Linked DNA regions of Homo sapiens: regions 2, 3, 4, 5 and 6 are each linked to region 1. The links are contacts of gene promoters, found by promoter capture Hi-C in human tissues and cell types (Jung and others, 2019). All regions are on one chromosome and are shown on one strand. The core of a region is centred on a gene start or on the middle of the fragment in contact, and the rest is flanking DNA. Distances in the headings are between cores, read along the strand shown. Region 1 holds the start of SLC25A15 (solute carrier family 25 member 15). Region 2 overlaps ELF1 (E74 like ETS transcription factor 1). Region 3 overlaps FOXO1 (forkhead box O1). Region 4 overlaps ELF1 (E74 like ETS transcription factor 1). Region 5 overlaps FOXO1 (forkhead box O1). Region 6 overlaps ELF1 (E74 like ETS transcription factor 1).

What was found. Contacts are between HindIII fragments. The study calls those that stand out against the background at their distance.
Region 2: a contact is called between a fragment that was not itself captured here and the fragment with the promoter of SLC25A15 in region 1, in 1 of the 25 tissues and cell types used here (stomach).
Region 3: a contact is called between a fragment that was not itself captured here and the fragment with the promoter of SLC25A15 in region 1, in 1 of the 25 tissues and cell types used here (small bowel).
Region 4: a contact is called between a fragment that was not itself captured here and the fragment with the promoter of SLC25A15 in region 1, in 3 of the 25 tissues and cell types used here (dorsolateral prefrontal cortex, lymphoblastoid cells and spleen).
Region 5: a fragment that was not itself captured here is called in contact with the fragment with the promoter of SLC25A15 in region 1 in 1 of the 25 tissues and cell types used here (spleen).
Region 6: a fragment that was not itself captured here is called in contact with the fragment with the promoter of SLC25A15 in region 1 in 1 of the 25 tissues and cell types used here (lymphoblastoid cells).

Annotation. Positions count from the first base shown.
Region 1 is chr13:40,787,260-40,791,515 of GRCh38, forward strand. It overlaps SLC25A15 (solute carrier family 25 member 15), which reads left to right and starts at 2,352. Exons shown (of 7, transcript NM_014252.4): 1 at 2,352-2,404. RefSeq lists silencers at 1,922-2,501, 3,634-3,928. The HindIII fragment of the contact is 20,114 bases long and covers 1-4,256 here.
Region 2 is chr13:40,938,520-40,943,147 of GRCh38, forward strand. ELF1 (E74 like ETS transcription factor 1) reads right to left here. Exons shown (of 9, transcript NM_172373.4): 7 at 4,433-4,625; 8 at 2,402-2,851. Among named protein-coding and RNA genes, the nearest start is that of ELF1, 78 kb to the right of the region's middle. The HindIII fragment of the contact is 4,134 bases long and covers 954-4,628 here.
Region 3 is chr13:40,600,627-40,604,866 of GRCh38, forward strand. All of the region lies in intron 1 of FOXO1 (forkhead box O1), which reads right to left. Among named protein-coding and RNA genes, the nearest start is that of FOXO1, 64 kb to the right of the region's middle. The HindIII fragment of the contact is 4,823 bases long and covers 359-4,240 here.
Region 4 is chr13:40,964,077-40,968,788 of GRCh38, forward strand. The region is part of intron 2 of ELF1 (E74 like ETS transcription factor 1); the gene reads right to left. Among named protein-coding and RNA genes, the nearest start is that of ELF1, 53 kb to the right of the region's middle. The HindIII fragment of the contact is 3,260 bases long and covers 1,808-4,712 here.
Region 5 is chr13:40,636,028-40,640,787 of GRCh38, forward strand. All of the region lies in intron 1 of FOXO1 (forkhead box O1), which reads right to left. Among named protein-coding and RNA genes, the nearest start is that of FOXO1, 28 kb to the right of the region's middle. The HindIII fragment of the contact is 3,078 bases long and covers 227-3,304 here.
Region 6 is chr13:41,000,869-41,005,242 of GRCh38, forward strand. The region is part of intron 1 of ELF1 (E74 like ETS transcription factor 1); the gene reads right to left. Among named protein-coding and RNA genes, the nearest start is that of ELF1, 16 kb to the right of the region's middle. The HindIII fragment of the contact is 4,925 bases long and covers 1-4,374 here.

The sequences.
Region 1 (4,256 bases), core at 1,102-3,601:
CTAAACCTCCCCAAATAGCTCCTCAGGATGACATCACTATTGTAAAACCTAAGATCACAGATAAGATTGAGATATTTTTGCAGAGCCTGTACTTGATGGATTGATCAGCTGGCACTACCCAGATTGATAAACTGCCTCATCTGGTTTTGTGGCCCCCACCCAGGAACCGACTCAGCGTAAGAGGACAGTTTAGACTCCCTATGATTTCATCTCCAACATGACCAATCAGTACTCCCACTCACTGGCCCCCTACCCACCAAATTATCCCTAAAAACTCCAAACCCCGAATTCTTGGGGAGATTGATTTGAGTAATAATAAAACTCTGGTCTCCTGCACAGCTGGTTCTGCGTGAATTAAACTGTTTCTCTATTGCAATTCCCCCATCTTGATAAATTGGCTCAGTTGAGGCAGCGGGCGAGAAGAACCCATTGGGCAGTTACATCACTGTGTTGCCCAGGTTCAACTCGAACTCCTGGGCTCAAGCAATCCTCCTGCCTCAGCCTCCCAACATGTTGGGATTACAGGCATGAGCCACCACACCCAGCCAAGTCTGTCCTTAATCAGGGTTCCTTTGGGTCTCATTTTCTGAAGCTGCAAAAGCTATTGGACCAGGTGACATTGCCAACCCCTTTAAGCTGCTGTAACTGTAGTTTCAGCTGCTGGATCTGCTTTCAGTTAGTTATGTTCCCCATCACTTTGGACAAGTCATCCCAACTCCCTGGCTTGTTTTTGTAACTCGATTACAGTCCAGAAGCCCAAGTTCTAAAGTGCTGATTCTGATGAGTGTCCATGTACCAGGCACTCTGATCCCATCATAGCATCTACTACAGCCTGGGAGGTCTACTCAAGTGTGCATTCATGTTAAGCACTAACACCAATTAAATCACTTAAATAACGTAGGTAATTATCCAATAGCACATCCAGACGTGGTGGCTCACACGTGTAATCCCAGCACTTTGAGAGGCCGAGGCAGGCAGATCACCTGAGGTCAGGAGTTCGAGACCAGCCCGGCCAAGGTGGTGAAACCCTGTCTCTACTAAAAAATACAAAATTAGCTGGGTGTGGTGGCGCATGCCTGTAATCCCAGCTACTTGGGAAGCTAAGGCAGGAGAATCGCTTGAACCCAGGAGGGGGAGGTTGCAGTGAGCTGAGATTGCACCATTGCACTCCAGCTCGGGTGACAGAGTGAGACTCTGTCTCAAAAAAAAAAAGAAAAAAAAAGAAAAAAATAATAATCCAACAGCACATCTAAACAAGGCTTAAAGTTGTAAAATAAAATTACACTGTGTGGAGGGTGTGTGTGTGTGTGTGTGTGTGTGTGTGTGGGTGAGAGAGAGAGAGAGAGAGAGATGAGGTCTCTGTCATCCAGGCTGGAGTGCAACAGTGCCATCATAGCTCACTGCGGCCTCCAATTCCTGGCCTCAAGCGATCCTCCCGCCTTGGCCTCCCAAATAGCTAAGAATAGAGGCATGTGTCACCACACCTTTTTTTTTTTGTCGTTGTTTGTTTGTTTTTATGAAACGGAGTCTCGCTGTGTAGCCCAGGCTGGAGTGTAGTGATGCAATCTTGGCTCACTGCAACCTTCACCTCCCAGATTCAAGCGATTCTCCTGCCTCAGCCTCCCTAGTAGCTGGGGTTACAGACACGCACCACCACGCTGGATAAATTTTTGTAATTTTAGTACACGGGGTTTCACCATGTTGGCCAGGCTGGTCTTGGACTCCTGACCTCAGGTGATCCGCCTACCTCGGCCTCCCACAGTGCTGGGATTACAGGCGTGAGCCACCATGCCCGGCTAATTCCTGTATTTTCATACTTAGTTGTATTTCCTATTAGGGCCTTGGATCCCGAGTATAATTTTGTACTCAAATATAATTTATAAATAAGGCCTTAGCCTCCCAACAAGGTCAAAGTAGCTAAAAAGTAAGTCCTCCCAACCACTGACATTACCAGCCCCCAGCCCCCAGTCCCAGCCCAGCGGGCTAACAAGGGTCCGGCCTCAGAGAGGGTCTCGGGGATCCCAGAGGTGGGAAAGTCTCCGGAGGCGCAGGCCCCGCTCTCCACCTTCACCAGGGTCGGCGGCAGCACCACGCCGGGTCGCGGGCTGGCTGTGCGCGCCGCGGCCCCACGCCCACTTCCGCTTCCCGTGCTGGGGGCGGTGGCAGGGCCGGTGGGCGGTGGCGGCTCCCGGTCTCGGCTCGGGCACGGCCCTGGGCAGGCCGCCCGCCAGCCGCAGGGGCGCTCCTGAGCTTCGCGGGGCCGCAGTCCGGGATGCCTGCGCGAAGGGAGGGGCGAAGGGCCGGCCGTTGCCGACGTGGGTGTTAAGTGGCCGCCCCAGCCGGCGACCCGGAGCCGAGAGCGGGCGGCGGAGCCTGAGCTGGACGCGGCCACGCCGGCGCGGCGGTGAGCGCAGCCCGGTCTGGCGCCTGCAGCTGCGGGGAGCGCGCCAGGCAGAGGGAGCGGGGAGCGGGGCGCGGGGCGGGCCTCGGTGTGCGGGCGGCGTGACCTTCCCGAGCGGCGGGGGAAGCGGCCAGCGTCGCAGCGCACGTGCCGCGGGACTCGGAGAATCTCGGGGTTGTCGGCCTCCTTCCTGCAGTGCCCACCTGGTGGGAACTTTTGTCCTTGTTTGCCCCCAAGTCCTGTCATTTGGCTGCGGGGCTCCGCGCCTCAGGGGCGCCAGTGCTGGGCAGCATGGAGCCGCTTGTGAATGGAGACTTGCTGGCTGCCCAGGAGTGGGCGGCTGGGCAGGGGCGGTGAACGTTTAGGGTCCGGCCAAGAAAGTTGGAAGTCGTCTCCCTGACCTGTTCCTTGCGAGGCCCGGGAGGAGACGCGCCTGGCCGGTCCTTGGCGGCGAAACTGATTTGCATCTCCACGCTTTACCTAAAGCCCGGGCTCTGGGGACTGGATGGCGAGCTGGCCTGCGGCTCCTTTAGCCAGAAGCTGGGATCTTCCCGCAGCAGTTCGTGTTCCCTGGTGGAAAATGCAGCCTCATCTACTGACTCTCCCTTCCAAAAAAAAGTTATTTTCCCCAAGGGTCGAGAAAAGTGGGTGGTCGGCACTGTTGTTCCTCAGTTGCACCCTGGTGTAATTTGAGAGAGGGGTCAAAGGCGCTGAAAAGATTCTTTTTTCTATTCCAAGTGCTACAGCAAGCTCATAAATCAATTTTAATTCATGCTGAACAGTCTTGCCTCCTCCAAGCCCTGTGTCTTCTCCAAGCCAGAGCTACACATAATGTGAATTAGCTGCCCACTCCTTCTGAGTGAATCTGTTAGTACCCATCATCGTTTTCTATCCTAATAATTCTAATGGCTATTTGTAGAATTTATTTGTTTGTTTATTTTTTTGAGACGGAGTTTCGCTCTTGTTGCCCAGGCTGGAGTGCAATGGGGCGATCTCGGCTCACCGCAACCTCCGCCTCCTGGGTTCAAGCTATTCTCCTCCCTCAGCCTCCCGAGTAGCTGGGATTACAAGCATGGCCCACCACGCCAGGCTAATTTTGTATTTTTAATAGAGACGGGGGTTTCTCATGTTGGTCAGGCTGGTCTCGAACTCCCGACCTCAGGTGATCCGCCCGCCTTGGCCTCCCAAAGTGCTGGGATTACAGGCGTGAGCCACTGTGCCTGGCCTATTTGTAGAATTTAATGTGTTTAAGTTTGGCTCACCTAACAGGGTTTAATTCTTAGGGACAGATAGAATGTAATGTGATGTGACTTTCCTTCAAAATTAAGAAGGAAGTGTCTGTGCCAAAAGAAATAAGCGCATTGAGGTTTATCTAGGAGGCCACATTGTACTTGCCTCTGTCTGTCTGCTCAGTTGCCCCCGTTTTTTTCTTTCCCAAAAATATAGGGTTGGGTGTTTTGTGTTGCCTTTGGCCAGGTTGAAATACTCAGATTAACGGTTGGTTTGTAGGCACAGGCCTGAAAAGACAGGACTTTGAACTGAATCCTCTGTCACTGACAGTTGTGTGGCCTTGGAGAAGACCTTGTCTTGCTCCAGGCTTTAGTTTGCCTTCTGGGAAAGGATTAGGACCCTGATAAACTTTTTATTTATTTATTTATTTATTTATTTATTTATTTTATTTTTTATTTTCTATTATTATTATTATTTTTTTTTTTGAGACAGAGTCTCACTTTGTTGCCCAGGCTGGAGTCCAGTGGCACAATCTCGGCTCACTGCAACCTCCACCTCCCGGGTTCAAGTGAATCTTCTGCCTCAGCCTCCTGAGTAGCTGGGACTACAGGTGTGCATCACCACG
Region 2 (4,628 bases), core at 1,771-4,270, 150 kb after region 1:
CTAGCATTAAAATACTATCTCCACCATCTGCTACATGTGACCAAGTTCCCTGGTCTCTCCTTGCTTCAGTTTCCACATCTATAAAACGGGGATATTATCTATTCTCATTGAGCTATGAGGATTCTATGCCTCACTATATGTAAAGTGTATGAAGTACAAAGAGTGCTCTGTGTCAGCTCTTGTTGTTATATTAATAATTTATCTAATTATATATATAATCATATACATTCCATCTTCTCTCAACCACAGGGAAAAAAGTTAAAAGCCTCTGATTTTATTAATAAGTCATCAAAAATCAAGAAAGATATAGTCAAAGAGAAAAAAAGGTATAAATAAATAGAGAAAACAAATAATGCAAAATGCTATCAATTTGTGAATTTAGGTGGATAGTAAATAAGTGTTCATAGTACTAGCTGAATTTTTCCATACTTTGAAATTTTCCATAGTAAAAGGTTGGGTAATTACAAAAATGCAAACAAAAAATATAAGAAATAACAAAACCAGAACTTGTCCTAATAAAAAACCATTCTAGGCCAGATGCAGTGGCTCACACTTATAATCCCAGCACTTCAGGAGGCCAAGGTGGTAGGATTGCTTGGTTGGTCTTGGTTCAAGACCAACAAAGTAAAACCCCATTTCTACAAAAAATTAAAAAATTAGCTGGACATGCCTGTAGTCCCAGCTATGAGGAAGGCTGAGGTGAGAGGACTGCTTGAGTCCTGGAAGTAGGATGCAGTGAGCTATGATGGTGTCATTACACTCCAGCCTAGGCAACAAAGCTAGCTAGACTTTGTCTCAAAAAAACAAAACAAAACAAAAACCTACTCTATAATATCTACAATTTAGTATCTTTCAAAGCTAGAGTTTTTTGTTTTGGTTTTATTCTCACAGTCTAAAAAGAATATTTTGAATACAGATGCTAAAAAAATTCCATGGAATCAGCTGTGGCCACTGTAGGTCTCCTATCAACACAAATACAAACAACAAACAGCCTAGAAACCAATGGGAGGAACCACACACTCCCAACCAGACACCCAGTCATCACCTGTAACCCACAGGGCCTAGGGAAATATAAAACATTAAGGGGAGAATACGGACAGTAAGAGTTAAATAAGCACCCACTGAGCATCCCAAATCCGAAAATCTGAAATCTAAAATATGAAACTTTTTGAGCACCAATAAGATGCTCAAAGGAAATGCTCACGGGAGCATTGTGGATCTCAGATTTTTGGATTTGGGATGCTGTGCCGGGTAAGTATAATGCAACGATTCAAAATCCGAAACAATTCTAAATCCAAAATATTTCTGGTCCCAGGCATTTTGGATAAGGGCTACTCAAGATATACTCCTTTAATAACAGTTAAAAGATGTAGCATCCAATTAAAAATGTAAAGGTCATCTTTGTACTCCTTGCAAATCAAGTGAAGATTTAAGAGAATATTTTCACAAGGTCAAACATTTTAAATTGTCTATACAAAGAAGACTGAATCTTCTAAGTCTGCCTTGATTCTAGGTAATGTTACCTTACTCCAAGATCAACTGAGCAAAACCTCCACATTTATATTCTGGAATATAAAAATGTAAGACTGAAGTTTGCTAATAAAAGTAATCAAATAATAATTTTTATTGGCTTTGAAAGGGCTGCTAGATTTTATTATGGTTCATGTTCTAGAAATTCATGACAGTATAAACAGAAAAATGCTACAAATATCCATATAATTTTCTGCCTTCCTCCCATACTCCCATTCTAAGTCAGCTGAGACTAGTCCCAAATTTCTGCAGATCAGTCTAAGGCAGACAGATCCTCTCAGTCAATTTGTTGTTTAGCATCTCATCCTGGGGCTCTGAGGCAAATCTGATTTAACTGAAAAAAAAAAAAAAAAAAAAAAAAAAAAAAAACAAACCTACTTTTTCAACTTCTGCCACTCTAAAAGAGGACCTTAGATTCTTGGCCTCCCTTCCTATTTGAACTTTAGAATTGTTCGAAGATAGGATCTTCCAAGGAATAACATTTATTGCTTGGAACTCTATGCACTCTCAATGTCCTAATATGTCAATTTATGTTGAATTTTTGAAGCTTCTGACTTGGCCTGAATAAAGATTTGAAACCCTGGATTTTCTCCCATCTAGATAATTTCTTATATGTATCAATCCAGTTATACAAAGGTGTAGTATTTGACAGAATAATGCCAGTAATGTCAAAATGTAAATAAAGGGACCAGTGGCATAATCAGAGGACTGACATAATAGTAACTGCTCCTGAAAAATCTGGTAACCAAGAATTCTAGCTTGAAACCTTTATACTTTTATTTTCATTTCTGAATCTTGACCCACTTAACAAATAATGTCTCTGGTCAGAAACATATTGAAGTGATAAGCATCAGTAGTTTGGTTTTCTCACCTAATACTCTGAACGGAAGAATTTAATGTTTCATCCTGCATGGTACTGGTTCTAGCTGCTTCTCCCTCTGGGACAGCCTGTACTGGCTGTACTACATGAACAGTCCGGAAGAGCTGGGTAGGATATGGAGACTGCGTGGGCTGCACTGTCCTCAAAACTTCTGATGGTTGTGCAACTTCCACAGGATCTTTGGGTTTTGCAGCTTTAGAATTCCCTGGTTTTAGAACTGTAGTGGCTCCTCCTTTTACCCCTGGACTTGAAGATACTCTCGACCGGCTGGTTTGATTCCTATTTGAAGTGGCTGATGAAGATAGCGATGGATCTGAAGACTCTATGCTGGAACTTGGATCCTCATCATTTATATATATAAGATCTTTTGGCATTTCTTTAAACTGATACACCAAGCGCTGACCTTCCACTTTTGCCAGAATACCCCTTTGGTAATAGTACCTATTCAAAGCAGACAATTTCATCAATCAATCAAACATCAATTAAAATATTCAACAAAATCAAATTTCCCTAATCATAAACAAAACTTTAAAGTTGGAATCAAACTAATGAGAAAAGAATTTCTAAATAAAGGGCTGTTATTTTATATGAGATAAACATACATTTATGCACAGATAGAGATAAGTTCTTATTACCAACTAAATCTAAAACTAATGCTGATTGGGGGACTGTTGATAAACTATGTGGAATCCTCTGGTCTTTCACTTTTCTTCCTCTTTCTGCTAACTTATTTACTTATTTATTTGGAGACAGAGTCTTGCTCTGTTGCCCAGGCTGGAGTGCAGTGGCATGATCACAGCTCACTGCAGCCTTGAACTCCTGGCCTTAAGCAATCTTTCCACGTCAGCCTCCTCAGTAGCTGGGACCACAGGCGCATGCTACCACACGTGGCTAATTTTTGCATTTTTTGGCAGAGACTGGGTTTTGCCATGTTGCCCAGGCTGATCTGGAACTCCCAGGCTGAAACGATCCTTCCTTCTCAGGCTCCCAAAATGCTGGGATTATAGAAGCGAGCCACCACACTCAGCCCCCCTCTGCCAACTTGCCAGGATAATCAAAACTACCAAAAGCCTCAAGAAATTGTTTCTCCTCCACGGCTTTCTAGAAATGTTCCTACTAGGCAAATTTTATCAGTTTAAATTTGATTCAATAAATTTAAATTGGCAAATGTATCAGTTTAAATTTGATTCAGTAAATTTGATTGACTTTTGTGTATAAAATTTAACCATATGCAATAGCAGTGATCCAACTTTTGTCATCTATTTTAACAAAATCAAGAACTTAAAAAGTGTATGTTAAAAAAACCCAAAAACTGTAATTAAAGAGTTTTAGTTTAAGACTGCTAAATTTTATATCTATATCTGTCTATCCCCTAAAAGTCATTCAGATCGTTCTTATTTCCAATACATCTTTCTCAAATACATGCGTATCTTGAAGGATAAATGACAGAATCACCGAAAAACGAACTAAAAGTGAGCTTAAGAATGTTACTCTTGTTCAAAATTCTCATGATTTCTAGTAGTACTCCTGAAGCACTGATTTATTCTACTATAATAACTAACATATCATACTTGCAATTCATGTTTGAGAATGCACCCTCTTTTTTTTTGAGACAGGGTCTCACTCCAGTTGCCCAAGCTGGAGTTCAGTAGTACAATCTGGATCACTGCAGCCTCAACCTCCCGGGCTCAGGTGATTCTCCCACCTCAGCCTGCCGAGTAGCTGGGACCACAGGTGCATACCACCACGCCTGGCTAATTTTTTGTATTTTTAGTAGAGACAGGGTTTTGCCATGTTGCCCAGGCTGGTCTTAAACTCCTGGACTCAAGCAATCCACCGGCCTCAGCCTCCCAAAGTGTTGGGATTACAGGCATGAGCCACCGCACCTGACTGAAAATGTACCCTCTTATTATGTATTTGCATTACCACTATTGGTGCTTTGCTGAACTTAAGCTTAGTATTTTTTTTTACAATTTAGAAAATGATATTCTTAACACAATAAAATACCAAAACTTCGCATACCTGAGTGCTCTTCCCATGGTCTCATAATTCATATCAGGTTTGTTTTTGTGCTTCCCCCACAACCTGGACACTGCTTTAGAATCCACCAATTTAAAAATGCCTTTCTCTCGCTGGGTCCACTTGATGTATTTAGGACAAGTAGCCTTGTCCTGGAGCAGTGCCAGTAAAAACTCCCAAAGATAAATTGTGTTTCCTG
Region 3 (4,240 bases), core at 1,520-4,019, 190 kb before region 1:
TGCAAATTACTGTCTGGGTATGCTAAACTTAGTAAATTACTGTTTGGGTAGACTAAATAGTAGTTCAGTACTCTGAAAGAGTTAATGGAGCTTCCAAACTGTCTAATTTAGTCCTAAGGTGATTTTGATAGTCAAGACTCTAACTCGATTTGCATATTACCAATTAGAATTTCAAGGCAATCCAATAAACTGGGCATTCAAAATTTATGTCCAAATTGGATCTAACAGACTTTTATTTAGACTTCCTAATCATCATAAATCTTAGATGATTACAACCAATCAACAGGGGTCTTTCCTCAAGCAATCTACTACAAATTAAAGCTAAAAAGTGATGGAAAAACATAAAACCTGAGATCAGGGTTTGCAGTTAATGTATGTTTGGAAACATGAGTCTGGGCTATGACTGGTCTGTCGAAAACCATCCCACAGCCACAGATTATTATACCTCAATGCCCCCCACCACCCGTTTTCTCTTCTTTGCAGCCATCTTCCCTTTCATCAGACTACAGTAACTTCTGCCACATGACAAATTTGTTCATTAAAGCCCAGTCTTTGAAGGATATTAAATGAGAATTCCTAAGATGAGGCACGTATCTCTTCTCTAAATAAAAACAATAAATAACATAAAAACAAGAATTTAACTTTGGACTTAAAGGTGATTTTTATGTGCTCAAGTCACTTTCCAGTTATGCTGTTAATAGTATTTTACATTATTCACTGACTGAACTTTGTTAATCAAAAACAAGCTGGCAAGCTTTATACATACATTAACCAGTGGCTTCAAAAAGATAACGCATAGAAAACAAAGTGGAAGCACTGCTAAAACAGAAGCAGTCATTTTGTTTAATTAAAACAATATGGCTGACTCTTCCCTATTTTTCAAATTTTCTCTAATATTTTTAAATTATACATACAGATTTAAACACGTATTTGTTCTCAATCCCCAAGCAAACCTGAATAAATCTTCTGAATTGTCCAATATACTAAATATTGATCCTGCAATATAATACTTTAAAAAATTTCTGTTAAAATTCTCAGTGATTAAATGGGTTTTTTGGTCACATTGGCACCTTTTTAGACACGTTTCTAAAAGATGTTGTTCTTGCTTTGTTATTCTTTTGAAAAATATAGAGCAATACCTAAGCATCTTTGTACTAGTACTGTTTTACCACTAATGTCTTGATTTGATAAATACTTTGAAATGGAAATATCACCAAAGATCCCAGTTCAGACCTATTAATTTTAAAAAATAGAATTGTATCTACATTTTCAAATGTTTGCATTTTAAAAATACAGTAACTAGAACTCTCTAGAGAGGTACTATGTTATCAATAATAATGAAATTACATATGCATAGCTTTCAGAGCCAAGAGGCACTAGCTGAAACTACATGACATAGAAAGATTCATGTAAACCTTAGTCCCATCACTAAAGCAAAAGACAAGCATTCTGGTTTTCTCAATTTATTAATATTTTGAGTTCCATCACAGTAGTTTTTTACTAACTACAAATTAAGTAGCCAATCTATGCCTTAATTGCAGGAATAATATGCTTAATATGCTTTCCCCCTCCCTCACTTTCTGAAGATGAATCTGAGCAAAAGAAATGTAGCAAGAACAACCATGTGACAGTGAATCTAAACATGTTCTATGGCATTTAAATTAGTCATTTGCAAGAAACTAAGCCGGCTATCCACAGAGAAATTTTCAAAAGGAATAGGTATATGAGATAACTAAAAGCTTTCAAAGAAAATGTTTAAAGTCTTTTCTCTTTTTCCCCAGTCTCACTTTTGAGGACAAGAAAATTTTAAAATTCAAAGCATAAAACTCATTAATACCGATCCCTTAGGGGATTAAATGTGGAGGGTGGGGGAAGATACATAATCAATGTACCCGAAAAAAAGAAAGAAATTCACATAAACAATGTAAAAGATTATTTCAAACATGAAGGGGGAGAGATTTATCTTCACCTGCTAATACAGCTTAATGCTCGTGTTTTTCTACCCAAGGTCATTTACATTTTTTAAAATGGTTGTTTTAATTTCATTCCAACACAATGCATTCTATCTAGATGGCATGATTTACAAAACCCTGATACAGCACCTTTCAACACTACCTGCCAATCATTTAAGGCTTTTCCAGGATTTGTGTCAGAGATTTAGGTATAGGTTAGCAGCAAATCCTTCTTAGTTGACACATGTGAAGATGGTCCCAAATGCAAAACAAAACAAAACATACTACCAAGCTCACCTACCTGGTAAGTCTTCTGCAAGTTACACTACCATAAAATTAGTAGAGTTCAAGGTCCCAATCCAGAGGCAACTTCATGTAGGATGAGTGATGGATGGATGGGAATGAACACCACACATGCTCTGCTCATACACTCACTCCCTACGTCACTCCACAACTAGGCCACTAATGCAGATCTCAATCTGACAGAGCCATTTCCTCAGTTACAATTCAGGGGGCTGCCAATGGTCCTTCAGGTCTCTCCCAGCTTACGATGCCTGTACCGTGTATTTCCATTTTAGGCTTCTCTCAGGACATGCTTAAGATAAATCTTATTTTATTACAGGGTAATGAGGAGAAACAATATGTATCCTAAAGAAAGTAGGTTAGCTATGGCTTTTGGCAGTCAATGCTCTTAATGCTGCTATTAGGTGGAAAGGTGTTATCCAATCTCAATCCAATCCAAACCAGATGGAGACCCTAGTTGGCAGATGAATCCAAAAAAAAAAAAAAAAAAAAAGGTTGAGTTAAAGCACAGGATTTTAAATATATACATATATTATAAATAAAAAGTATGTATACCTTATATATGTGTGTGTGTCTGTACATGTGTGTGTGTACATATATATGTATTCCTTAAACATTTGCCTTAAAAATATACAGGAAACTGTGCTTGAGGTACAGCAAACCTTTGAACCAAGATACTCTGGCTAGGCTTCCATTCTTTCTTATAAACCCTAAACCCACAGTATATTGTCACCACAGATTTACAATTTGGGTTTCTTTCAAGTGTAAGAGGAATCCAACTGAACCCCTTTCATATCAATCCAACTACAGAGTTCTTCATGGTTTCCCCTAATCTTACAGGGTCTGACTGCAACTAATTTATCAGCAGCTTAAGTCTTTCAAGGGGTTCAACTTAGTTTTTCCTAAAGATAATTATTTTCACATTCATATTTAATAACTAACTTTTTCTTAGGAAAACAATTACTACTGCACAAACACATCTGAAAAAGCACAACTGAGTTTCAAGAAAACTATAACTCAACTACTGTACTAGAGCTTAGCTTTAGCAGTCAGAGTGCCATATACAATCATGAAGTGTGTTTTGTCAAGGGAATTAAGAACTGGGGTTGATGTGGTGTGCTGGGGAAGCAAAGATCAGGTGAGAAAGCTGGAGCAGATGATGGTGTCGCCACAGAAATTTATCCCGAACAATTATGTGCCAAAATGGGGCAAAGACTGGGAAAACTACAGAGTGGCTTTTTAACTGTGTGATTTATATTGAATGTGACAGAATTAGCCTAAATTTTGCAATTTCCACTAAGGAAAAAAAAAAAAGAAGACAAGACATGCCACCTAGAAGCACTATTAACACTTTAAATGTGTGTCACTTGTTCTTACAAGTCAATCTTTTGAAAAATCTAGATAGTGATACTGTATATGTATGTGCATGTACCTACATGTTATTTAAAGCATACATATGACTGAGTGCACTCAACTATCTCATAATTAGTCTGGTGTCAGATCTTTTTTTTTTTTTATCATTCTTGCCTCTGGAATAAACCATATGATCTGTATGTGGTTCTCTTGGTAGGTTTATCTTCCCATGTGCTATTTACACTTATATTAGAATGGATTCATATGCATTCAGCCCAGAATCATATTGGCATCAGGCAAGGACACCTAGCTACCAGCATCTATGACCAGGCAGACACATACACATAATCTATACTACAGAGAACTAACTGAAAGGTGATGCTACTTCATCACAAGCCTTTCTCGGCTGGAAGCTTTCTTCTTTAAACATGCCATGACAACAGGAGTCTAAACCAGACAACTCTATATTTTTTTACCTATTTGTAAATATTACTGTCATCCCTAAAAAGTCTTATGTATAAGAATCACACACTAGATTAAGATGTTATTTTTTTCTAGACAGAGGCCAAAAGTGTATTCATTTAACATTATAGACAGTAAAACAGCTATATGTTAACATCCTTTCTAAAATT
Region 4 (4,712 bases), core at 2,188-4,687, 180 kb after region 1:
GCTCATGATGAACTGCTTTGTAAACTGGATTGACCAGTAACTGGCTAAAGTATGAGTCATCAAGAACCTAAGAACTCTAGAACCACACATTCTACAATTCCTTCTAGAGAACTGCTTCCCTACCTTTTAAAGAAATAGTAAAATTTCAAATGCTGAATTTTCCTAGGTTTAGATTTTCAAAACAAATAAAATATTGGGACTTATATTAGTTTGCTACGGCTGCTGCAACAAAGTACTACAAACTGGGTCCCTCAGCAGAAATTTATTTTCTCACAGTTCTGGAGGCTAAAAGTCTGAAATCAAGGTGTTGGCAGGGCTGGCTCCTTTTGCAGACTGTGGGGGAAGGAACTGTTCCAGGTCTCTCTCTTTGACTTATAGATGGCTGGTCTTCATGTTTACATGGGCTCTGTGTCCAAATCCAACTCCACTCACCCCCCGACTTTTTTTAATTGAGACAGGATGGAGTGCAGTGGCGTGATCTCAGCTCTCCCTCTGTCACCTAGGCTGGAGTGCAGTGGTGCAATCTCAGCTCACCATAACCTCTGCCTCCCGGGCTCAAGCGATCCTCTCACCTCAGCCTCTCAAGTAGCTGCGACTACAGGCATGCACCATTACGCCTGGCTAATTTTTGGATCTTTTGCACAGATGGGGTTTCTCCATGTTCCCCAGGCTGGTCTCGAACTCCTGAGCTCAAGCGATCCACCCAACTCGGCCTCCCATAGTGTTGGGATTACAGGTGTGAGCCACCGCACCCAGCCCAAATTTCCCCTTTTTATAAGGACACCAGGTAGTGGAGTAAGGGCTCCCCTCTCCTGTAGTGTAACTTCTTTACTAATTACATCTGCCATGACCCTATTTCCAACAACCAAATAAGGTTACACTCTGAGGTACTAGAGGTTAGAACTTCAATATATGAATTGGTGTGTGGGTGTGCACGCAGGCACAATTCAACCAATAATAGGACTTAATTTAATTTGGTTTTAAGTCTGTCATTTAACAATTTGTTCCCTCTGCCCGAAATAACTTGTATAAACTAGTCTTTTCATTGTTTCTAAATTGAGATTGGATATTACTCTTCAGGTTTCTTTGCTGAAGATCATCAAATCTTACCCACCTCAATTTTTTCCACACCATTTCAAACAGACCCTTTCCCAAGATTTATTTAAAAGATGGGCTTCAGGAAGATAGCAGATATTCATAAAATAGCCACACTCCTAATAGTAAGCAATAAGATGTTACCTACTTTTAAGAAATGAAGGTGTTGGCCGGGTGCAGTGGCTCACACCTGTAACCCCAGCACTTTGGGAGGCCGAAGCGGGTGGATCACCTGAGGTCAGGAGTTCGAGACCAGCCTGGCCAACATGAAGAAACCTCATCTCTACTAAAAAATAAAAAAATTAGCTGGGTGTGGTGGTGTGCACCTGTAATCCTAGCTACTCAGGAGCCTGAGGCATGAGAAGCTTGAATCTGGTAGGCAGAGGCTGCAATGAGCCCAGATTATGCCACTGCACTCCAACCTGGGTGATAGAGCAAGATTTCATCTCAAAGAAAAAAAAAAAGAAATGAAGGTTTCAATGCTTCTTTGATGCCTTAACAAAAACATTACATTCCATTTGACTGGCTGCTACTTTAAAAAATGACCTTCCAAACCTTCCAAACACTTCTAAAAACTCTCATCATTTAAATAATTAGATTAAGCATCTTTTCTTTTATTTGCATCATGAAATCTAATTAAATTCTACTGGTGCTTATCAATTTTCGCTGTACAGTGGGAAACATTTAAGAATATCAATATTTGACCCCACATGGGATAAAATAAATCAGACTATCTGGGGGTGTGACCAGAGCCTAATATTAAAGCTCCCCAGGTGGGTCCAATTTGCATCCAGGCTTCAGGACCACCGCTCTGAAGAATGACAACATTCAAAACTGCATTCCCTAAGTTGAGTCAGCTCTAATTATTCTTGCTAAGATCTGGGATATTAGTAATTCAAACAATTACATTTTTATATTATTAGATCTTTTGCTATTTGTCACTTGCAGATTATTTTCCCCTTTGGTTTTTGAACAGAACCAAAATAAACCACAAACCATGGGAACAAGAGAGGGAAGATCTCCTGGAACTAAAATCTATCAAAGATCAGGGTTTCCAAAGCTTCAATATCTAGAAGCAAATTACTGCAGTGATAAAGTAATTTTCAATTGTTTCATAACTTTCTTGAAGGTCTTAACAGCTCCAAAGAGATTTCCCCTTTCTATTAATTATAGATAAATTTAGGATATATGTTGAAAGCAAAATTTCAGCAAACATTTTTGGAGCAATAATAAAATTCAAACCAAGTTTTAGCAGAAGAGAGTCACAGTTCCCCAAATTTCAACATTGTCCACGATATAGTTTCCACTTGTGGTTGATCACGTATGTGGCAATACCATCAAGTTAAAAAGAGAAGGAAAGCGACCAATGTAAGCAGGACATTATGTGACTCCCCTAACTAGGCTTGCTTGTTCCACATACCACAATCCAAGGTCCTATGTGGATATTTCAGAAACCATGAATCATTATTCCAACTTCATTAATAATTTTGTTCATCAAGTTTTTGGGTATCAAAAAGCACAAGAACTTTCATATAACTTGTTTACCAAGTTTCTCTAATAGCAGAACTCAATCTGGTATATGGTGATTGTGAAACATCCCATCAAAATCCTCTCTAAAATAGCTTAAAATGAAATACCTACAAAATATTTTCCCAAAACAAAAAGCAAGTTAAATTTAGTCTCTAGCATTTTTCCAAAGCAGACACTACTTTTTAAAGACAGGTGCAAAATGAGCACACCTTCGAGTAGTTCACGCAACATCTTTGCATCAAGGCAAGAAAACACCAAGAGGGGTCTGGTGCCTTACTCCTCCCACAGTCTTCAACAGCTCCCCTGACTCCAAAGCCTGTCCAATAAGCACACAAATTAAACACTGCACTTGCTATGAAAACACATCTTTGAGACAAATCCCTGTGCCCAGCCTTCAAATCAGACTGAGGCCCCAAAGCCTTATCCTATGAAGACACTGCTTTGAGGACTTCTGAATTATTCTTGAAATCACTTCCTTTTACATTTGATTTAAAAAACAAAAACCCAGCACCTTACTCTATTACAACACGATCTGACAGTACCTTACCATGCAGCAAATGCACTACATACACACATGGTGAACAGGGTGTAACAGTAAAAACTCAGGTTCTTATTTAAGGTAGGACTCCACCATGGCCTGGGTATTTGAACTCATGCAAGTTATCCAGCCTCTCTAAGCTTTAGTTCCTACATCTATTCAAAATAAGAATAATAGTATCTTCTGGAATTGTTGTAAGAATAATGTGTAAATAAATCATTTGTGATAATGCATGGCATATAGTAAGCAATAAATAAAATGTTTTGATGATTAAAGCCCTTCAATATTTGATACGGATAGAAATAAACACTCTCAAAAACTGACTTACTACAATCTCACATGGACAGGCATGGTTTTGTTTTTATTTTTTTGAGACAGGGTCTTGCTCTGTCGCCTCGCTGGAGTGCAGTGGCGTGATCACAGCTCACTGCATCTGTGAACTCCTGGGCTCATGCAATCCTCCTGCCTCAGTCTCCCAAGTAGCTGGGACTATAGGCGTATGCCACCATGTCTGGCTAATTTTTTTTTTTTTGTAGAGATGAGGTCTCTCTATGTTGCCCAGGCTGGTCGCAAACTCCTAGGCTCAAGCAATCCTCTCCTGCCTCGGCCTCCCAAAGTGCTGGGATTATAGGTGTGAGCCACCATGCCTTGTCCTTTTTGTTTATTAATTATTTTTTGCTTTATTTATTATTTCTTTTGCTTTCTTTAACCTTTAAGCTTTGTTGGGATTTGATTTTGTTTTATTTTTAATGAGAATAGTCTTTTCAAAACATAGGTGAACAAACCTTAACCATCCACACTTAGCAACAACATTTAGCTTCAACTAAAAGCAAATGTTGATACATATGTGTGTTCACTTTGTGAAAATTCATAAACTGCATGCTTATTACCGACATACATTTTTATATTAATGCTACACTTCAATAAGAAGTTTAAAAAGCAGAGGTCCATCTGATGGGAGAAACAAAACTTCAAAACATCTTCAAAATACTATGATGGTATTCCTTCATTACCTCATATAAACCATGATAAAATTAAAGGAAATCGCTACACACAGTACATCTACATGGATAAACACACACAAAAAATTAGGGTGACTGGTGAACAAAGTGAAAAGTTGAAATCCTTTCAACAAATCCCCATGGCACATTTTTAATAATTATCTTTGGGAATAAATAATACAGAACATATTTATATTCCAAGAGTATGAAACATCATTGCTTCCTTTCCATATAGTGCCCCTCCTCAATGGTTTCTACTATTTCTAAATTCCAAAGTGTATTTTAAATGATTTCAGGAATTGATGTATTACACAAAGCAAGCTAGGATTGTACAATAGATTTCCAAAGCCCAGTACAAAGTTTTCTGTGAAGAATTCTTCATAGCCAAATTCTCCACATACTTTAAAAAAATATGCCACTAAAACAGCTCCAAATATTTCTGTTGATTAACTCAAGCTCCCTGTAAACACTTTCTATATTCTTTTTTTTTTTTTTTTTAGACAGGGTCTTGCTCCGTTGCCCAGGCTGTAGTACAGTGGCACAATCAC
Region 5 (4,760 bases), core at 516-3,015, 150 kb before region 1:
GATGAAACCCTGTCTGTACTAAAAATACAAATATTAGCCAGGCGTGGCATGGTGCGGTACACCTGTAGTCCCAACTACTTGGGAGGCGGAGGCAGGAGAATCGCTTGAACCTGGGAGGCGGAGGTTGCAGTGAACTCAGATCTCACCACCCTACTCCAACCTGGGCCACAGAGCGAGATTCCATCAAAAAAAAAACAAAAAACAAAAAACAAAATGGTGGGGTCTGTTAAACATTTGCCACACAAGCTGTACAACCTCAAACAAGGTAGGGTCCTCTACCTCTCTGGGTCTCCATTTCCTGACCTGTAAAATGTTGATGATACTTACACCATGAAAGGCTACTGTAAGAATAAAATAATGGGCTGGGCCCAGTGGCTCATGCCTGTAATCTCAGCACTCTGGGAGGCCAATATGAGAGGACTGCTTGAGGCCAGGAGTTCAATACCAGCCTGGTCGATATAGCAAGATCCCATTTCTATTTTTCAAAAACTTTTTTTTTTTTTTTTTTTTGAGACAGAGTTTCACTCTTTGTTGCCCAGGCTGGAGTGCAGTGGCACAATCCCAGCTCACTGCAACCTCCACCTCCTGGGTTCAAATGATTCTCCCGTCTCAGCCTCCCAAGTAGCTGAGATTACAGGCATGCACCACCACACCCAGCTGACTTTTGTATTTTTAGTAGCTGGTCTCAAACTCCTGACCTCAGGTGATTCACCCGCCTTGGACTCCCAAAGTGCTGGGATTACAGGCGTGAGCCACCACACCTGGCCAAAAAATAATAATAATATTGTTTTAAAAGAAGGAAATAACAAGAAGCCTAGCACAATACCTGGTGGAGTACAAGTGCTAGGCTGAATAAACTACTGTAATTATAAACAGTGACTTTTCCTGAATACTATGCGCTAGGTACTGTTCTTTAGGCACCTTACCATGTATTATTAATTTATGTAGCTCTCATAACAACCCTTGATCATTATTGCACCAACTTACAAATGAGGAAACTGAGGCATGAAGATTAAGAACTTCATTCACAAGTGGAGGAAGGTTGGATTCAAACTTGACAGAAAGATACCCCAACTCAACACTGTGACAGCCTTTCTGGTGGCAGTGGCAATTGATCCCATGTAAAAAGCTTATGGCCGAGCGCGGTGGCTCACGTCTGTAATCTCAGCACTTTGGGAGTGCCAAGGCAGGCGGATCAGGAGGTCAGGAGATTGAGGCCATCCTGGCTAACACGGTGAAACCCCGTCTCTACTAAAAATACAAAAAATTAGCCGGGCATGGTGACACGTGCCTGTAGTCCCAGCTACTCAGGAGGCTGAGGCAGGAGAATAGCTTGAACCCGGGAGGCGGAGGTTGCAGTGAGCCAAGATCGTGCCACTGCACTCCAGCCTGGGCAACAGAGTGAGACTCCATCACAAAAAAAAAAAAAAAAAAAAAAAAAGGTTACAATAGGTCCTGCTGGGATTTCACCCTCAACCTTACGTCTTCCTAGCTATCAAATTTTAACCAACTCAAAAAATGTCAGCCTTCTATTTTCTGCTTTCTATATATAATCTGTACTTCACCAAAGTAATGATAATAATAGCTACCATTTATAAAACACTTCCTACACAGCAAACGCTACTCTAGAACACATTTTATGTTTTGTTCAATTCTCACAACAACCTATAAGAGTTACTATTTACATTCTTCACACGAGTAAAGAGCAGCACAGGAGGTCAACTGCCCAAGTGATAAAGTTGGTAAGCACTGAAGGCAGAACTCCACCCAGGCAGTGTGACCGGCAAACCGAAGCACTTACGCACTCTACTATACTGACTTCCTCAGCAACTACTCACTTTATGGGAATAACTGGTTATTTAGATAAGCAATACTATACAGAACTGCAGAAAAAGTTCATGTTTATCTGTATTACAGATGAGACTAAGATACTGGAGGCACCACACTTAGGGTCATTTGCAAGCTGTAGTACACATTTTACTGCCAACAGTCCACTACTGAGTTAACAGTGATATGTCTACCCACTTAAAAGTTTTTGTATTTTAAAAAATTCTTGAAATTTGGTTTTTCTGTCAGTAGACTTCAGTGGCAGAAAGGCTGGAATGCTGTGAAGGTTCTTTCTGTTTCTAAATTTAGGAACAGCAAGGATTGGTTTAGGGTCAGTTTAGTACAATGACAGCAGTGAACCAGATCATTTAATTTAAGGACCTAGTAATTTAAAAGGATGCACTAGAAAAACATGTCAAGCCAGATGAGAACCTCTGGCATCACCATCATCACCATAAGGAGATAACTTATAGAGGAACGTTGAAGTGATGTAAGGAAGACATTATATGAAAGAATACATTTTTGCTTCTCCAACAAAAAAAAAAGCTAAAATTTGTCATTTTTAAATGTCTGTTTCATTCCCATTGTGTGTGAGAAACTAAATATTAAGATGTTTCCTGGGACCAGAAAGGAAAAGTAAATAGAATTCTGCCCTTAAAAGCTTACAGTCCAATGAGATTTGGGGGCGAGAGACTAACTCACAAAAAGTTCCAAGAGAGAGCACACCTGTTAAGGGGGGAATCAAAGGAAACAGAGAAATCCCATTCAATTGGGGAGGAAATCAAGACAACAAGCTTCACAAAAAAGGCAGCAAAATAGGCAGTCTGGGAGGAGGAGGAGGGGGCCTAAGGTTTCAGAAGGTGGCAATGGTCCTAGGAAAATACATGCCCACTCACGACAGTGGTGAGAAGTGGTCATCAGAAGGATGGGCACTGTATTCATACTGTGATGAGGCACTGAAGGCAGTAGAAACTTCAGACCATCACTGGAAGTTCTGAAATGGAAGGAAGGGGGGCAGGGCAGCGCACCACCTCTGTAACTCCAGAACAGTCACTAAGGCCAGGCACGGTGGCTCACGCCTATAATCCAAGCACTTTGGGAGGCCAATGCGGGTGGATCACCTGACGTCAGGAGTTCGAGACCAGCCTGACCAACATGGTAAAACCCCGTCTCTACTAAAAATACAAAAATTAGCCAGGTGTGGTGGTGCGTGCCTGTAATCCCAGCTACTTGGGAGGCTGAGGCAGGAGAATCGCTTGAACCCGGGAGCAGGGGGTTGCAGTGAGCTGAGATCAGATAGTGCCACTGCACTCCAGCCTGGGCAACAAGAGGGAAACTCTGTCTTTAAAAAAAAAAACAACAACAGTTACTAAGACAATGAAAAGGGAAGCAGGGATATGGAGAAGGTTCAAGAGCCAGCAGAGTGACTCATCTCTTCAGAGGTCACAAGCCTCAGGGCTGATGGAATAGGAGGTCAGACCCTCTGACAGTCTAACCCTGCTTGGCCCTACCACAGGGTCGCCTGTCAGTAGTCCAGAGCCCTACACGTCATTCTTCTAGTTTTAGGTGCAGTAAATAAAAACACTAGTAACTAAGTTAGGAATTCTCTCAGTTTTTTATTCCAATAGTTCAAAATCACTCACTAAGCAACAAAGGCATTTTCATGCAGGAAAAAAATAAACTAATTTTGTCTAGAGCAGGGAGGGTTTCACAACTTCAGCACTACTGACACACATAGTGGCCAGCACTACTGGTCAGATAATTCTCTGTTATGGGAGGTCGGTCCTGTGCTTTGCACGGTGTTTAGCAGCACCCCTGATCTCTAATCACTAGATGCCAGTAGCAACACATCCCCACCCAAGCTGTGACAACAAAAGATGTTTCTTGAATTGCCAAATGTCAGAGGGACCAGCTGAGAACCACTAGCCCAGTCTTTAGCAGAGGAAGAATTTAGACCTAATTAGAAGTTTTTTCCTTTCTCCCTTCTATCTGAAAAATCTTCGAAAATAAAACGACTGAGAACGGGAGAGAGCAACCTTTGCCTTATGTGGCAAACCCAATCCCTCAATCCTCACGACAATCTTAGCAAGTGCTATCCTCATTATACATGTGAGAAAACCTATCCTTAAATGTTAATTTGTCCAAGGTTAAGTTAAACAAGCTTGAACGGATTTGTGACAATACTCAAGGTTCTAAACACTACAGAACCTCTGCCCCCACAGGGCCATAGATTCCACTCCTTGAATAAAACAAACATTAAAAACTCTAGATAATCCTACACTAAAATAGCACAAATCCTGTCCATCTATTAGGAACCAATTACTCAAGAAAAAGCTAAAGGGCCACACACTTCATGCAAGCATCATATGTAAAGGGAATTAAAAGAATTGCTTTAGGTCACTGTGATTTCTTTTAAAGGATAAGGAAAGGGAAAGGGAGGGACGATGAACATTATTTGGAAGCAGAGTCCTAAGCCAAGCAATGTCTGGCTCTGAAGGTAGCCCTGGTTACCACTGCCTCTGAACTACACTACACTCTCTCTCTCTAAGTATCGTCCAAAGCAAAACCAAAAGACTTTCTCAATGAGGGCGCTCCTGGGCGCTATTCTGCTCATCTGATGATCCAGTTAGAAGGGCGGCTTTAGCATCCCCCAAGCCCTGAGTCTCAGGACCTCAGTCTGGAGCAGGTCACTTCGCTTCTCTTCACCTCAGTTTCCTGTGCATGCAATAGAGACAGTACCTAATGGGAAGGACTGACCTGTTCTTAGTAAAATGTGGATGAAAGCTTAAGGATTTCTTTTTGTCCTCGTCCCTTAACTAAAGTATCAGTAGCCTTCCTGAAGCTTAAGCTCACCCCAAGAACAAAGTATTTTCTGTCCAAACAGGTCAGTGTTTGTTATTTCTTTTGTTGTTGTTGTTGTTGTTGTTGTTGTT
Region 6 (4,374 bases), core at 833-3,332, 210 kb after region 1:
AAAAATAAATCATAAAATAAATAATTAGATACAACGCAAAGAAATCTACAGATTCAATGCAATCTGTATCAACATACCAATGACATTCTTCACAGAAATAGGAAAAACACTTTTTTTTTTTTTTCTGAGACAGAGTCTCACTCTGTCGCCCAGGCCAGAGTGCAATGGTGTAGTCTCGGCTCACTGCAACCTCCACCTCCCGGGTTCAAGCGATTCTCCTGCCTCAGCCTCCCAACTAGCTGGGATTACAGGTGCCCACCACCACGCCTGTCTAATTTTTGTATTTTTAGTAGAGATGGGGTTTCACCATGTTGGCCAGGCTGGTCTTGAACTCATGATCTCATGATCCACCTGCCTCGGCCTCCCAAAGTGCTGGGATTACAGGCGTGAGCCACTGTGCCTGGCCAACATTTTTTTTTAATTATTATTTATATGAAGGCTGGGCATGGTGGCTCATGCTTGTAATCCCAACACCTTGAGATGCCAAGATGGGAGGATCACTTGAGCCCAGGAGTTTGAGACCAACCCAGGCAACATAGCAAGACTCCATCTATCTTTTTTTTAAAAAGAGAACCACATCCATATTTTGTGGAACCACAAAAGATCTCAAATAGCAAATAACAAAGCTGGAAGCACCACACTACAAGTCTTCAAAATAGAATATAAAGCTATAATAACCAAAATAGCGTGGTTGGCATAAGAACAGACATACAACGTGAGAGACCCTGTTCTAAGTGCTGGGAATACAGCAGTGAACAAACCGACCAAAATTTGTGCCCTCATAGGGCTTAGAATCTAGTGATCTTAATCACAACATTCTGTTTCCCCTCAAAATATTCTGCTTTAAAAATGTAAAGCCAGATGCAGTGGCACGCTCCCATAGCAGGGGGCTGAAGCAGGAAGATCACTCCAGCCCAACAGTTCAAGGTTGCCGTGCACTGTGATCACAACTATAGACAGCCACTTACTCCAAGCAGGGCAAAACAGCAAGACCTTGCTTCAAAGAAAAAAAAAAATGGGGATTGTCAGGCAACATAGGCTGTTATCTTAAAACCCATGAAAGAAACTTCTGTCTCTCTCGTTCAATATCTAACTCCTAGTTACAATCCAACCCCTGACAACTGGACACAGAGAATGTGACGTCTCCTACAGTAAATGGGGGACTAAGAGTTGTGGGGAGAAGTTTTTTTACCTTTCAGAGACGATCTGTGAGTATATAAGGTGAGGGGAAGGGAAAATCTGGGGGGGAAATAGGTACAGATAAATCCAAAAGGAGGCTGTTCCAGGTAAAGCTGATTTACTTAGGGGTAACCTCAACGCCTTCATTTTGATTTAATTTTGACTTTGAGCCAACTGAAATGTGACACTGTGTACTGGGATTTTTAAAAACATCCCCTTTATAAATAGAAATACCTGGAGAAGAAGAAATAATTCTTCCTATATTGTCTTTTCCTATATTTTAATAGTAGATGGCCTGCAGAAATCATATCAGGGCGAGGTGCAGTGGCTCATGCCTGTAATCCCAGCACTTTGGGAGGCCAGAGTGGGTGGATCATTTGAGGCCAAGAATTCGAGACCAGCCTGAGCAACATGGCGAGAACCCATCTCAACACAAATTAAAAATTAGATGGGCATGGTGGCATGAGCTGGTGGTCCCAGCTACTTCGGAGGCTGAGGTTAGAGCCACTTGCACTCCACAGAGCAAGACCTTACCTTAAAAAAAAAAAAAAAAAGGCAAGTCCCATCTCAAAAAAATAAATAAATAAATAAATCAGTGTCGTCTATATTCTTTTGGACAAGCACTCTTTAGGGACCTATCTGCCAGACACTTGTGGGTAAGGGAGAAGGGTAGGAAAGCAACAAGTAGCTAAGAAGACTTTCCCTACAGGCGCTTACAATCTATCAACTAAGGCAAATGCAAATCATAGTAATATGTATGCTATAGCAGAAGTGGGCAAAGTTCATTCTCCCATGTAATTCAGTAATTATTTACTATGTCCCATCTCTTAAGATTATAAGCTACTTGAAAACAAAAGACATATAATAAATTTTTCTATATATTAATAAACACAGTTTAAAAGAATATTAAGTAAAGTGTATATTAAAAAGTCAAACTAGGTCAAGATCAAAGGACCTTTTATTTTCTTAATATTTACTTACTAAAATTCTTCATTAAACAGTAAAAGATTAGTGTTTTCATATGTTTGTTTTAGCATTCTATAGAATTTCACATGATGCATGTACTTGCTTCCCAGAACCAACTGGTGGTAAGCTAAGCTTCACTGACTATTGTCAAAGTGACGTACATATATGTATTTTTCTGATCCAAACTCAGAAATACATCAACACCCCCCAACAAAGAGCACAAAAAAGGGAGGTCTGACATGTAAAAGGACACTCAAAAACCCTATAAACTATTTTCCACATGTCTACCTAAGTTTTAATAAACAAAATAACTATTTGGTTCTTCTAAAACTCCTTAAAAATTAAATTCATATAGCTTCATAATTTTTCCTTCAATCTTAAAAATTAAATCCTTAAATTTGACTTTGATCATTTAGATTTATTGTTTAAAAAGACATAGTAACTTCTATCAATTTTTGGCTGGAAAAACTGTTAATATATAAACTTTATAAGACATTCCTAGAATGGCCAGATCTAAGCTAAAGTCCTATTTGTGAAAATTATTGCTCTGTTGACAAGACGACTGCAATTTATAACCCTCCAATCACTGAGGCACAAAAAACTTGGTGACAACAGAAAATAATACAGGGAGAAGCAAAAAGTAATAAAGAGAATTATTATTTCCATTTATTCAGTGGAGATATCAGGACCACAATGAATGGCTAGACATTTTTTCCAGATTGAAGCCAAAAGTAAGAGATTTTTGATGCTTAGCGAGCTAAAATAATTAAGCTCTTCAGCTACATTTTTTAATGGACCAATATGTTATCTCCACTTTTAACTAGGATGAAAACACTAATAATTTCACTAAGATATCTCATTTCCATAAACAGCAAAAACAAACTGGGGGTGGGTGGAGCTGAAGTACAAAATAACTTTTACAATAAAATTATTTCTTAGAAATAAACCATAAAGGCAACCTGTAGAAAAGATTCACATTATAGTTCTTTAACCAGTTTATGATTCTAGAAAAAAGAAAATAAATATCAGGCATGTATTTATTCCCCCAACAAGTATTTATGAAATCTACTATATGCCATTTACTGGGTATACAAAAATAAAGATAAATAAGATATGATCCTTGTCCCAAAGTGGTTCAACATCTAAAAAGAAACAATGTAAACAGATAATTACAAAACAATGTAAATAAACAAGTCAACCAAAAGATGACAGAATGAATAGAGAGGGGTAAATACCTGTGAGAACCTGAAAAAACTTCATAAGGAAGTAACATGTTACTTATTTCTAAAGAAATAGCCCACATCTGTTTTTTTCCAAGGAGAGAGAACATGAAAGGAAAGGGGGTGGGGGATATTCTGGGAAGAATAAGCAAAGGTGACCCTAAAAGTTAAAATCACTGAGAAACAGGTAGAATAGGAATTTAATGAAAACAAACCTTTTCCCTAACATTAGGGATACAGGATCTACCATCAGAACACCTGCATTCAAGTTGTAGTTGAACATCATTTACTAACTGTATTTTCTTAGATAAGTCAACCTCTATAACTTTCCATTTCATCTTTCATCTTGAAGTTGTACCAAGTAAGAATTTACTTGGTAAACTACAAAATGCTTTGAAAGTTTTACAGAATCCTGATATACTAATACATAAAAGTTAATAATTAGATACTAAAATTTCAAGATCAAAATATTAGCCTAATATTTCATAGTGAATTTATATCAAATATATGAATTCAAATGCCAATTTTTTTATGGCCTAAAAAATGTCACAAAAGTAAATACCTTTTAAATATGTAAAAGATATATGTTCCTATTAGGTGCTGTAGCAAACATCTAATTGCCACCACATGATGCATACAATCCATATAATACCAAACAAGCCTACAACGTCCCTCGAATCAACAAGTGACAAAAGTTTAATAAAACTAGCTTTATGCTTAACTGGTCTCCCCAGTGGCAAATTAAAGCAGCAATTGTACATCTGTGTCTCTGTTCCTCTCATCGTGGTTTAACTGACAGGAAGCACAGAGTAAGATATGGCACACAAATGTCAAGTATTTCCTGCCTTCTCTGTTACATCTTTATGTCTTGTTTTATAAATAGTCCAATAGTTTGTGTGAAAATATATGAAAGTACAGTAGCACAAACATATAAATGGTGAAGAGTGTTTATGCAAACAGAGCCAATAAAAAAGTATTTTGGTCTTGGGATCTAAGATTCAATATGCAC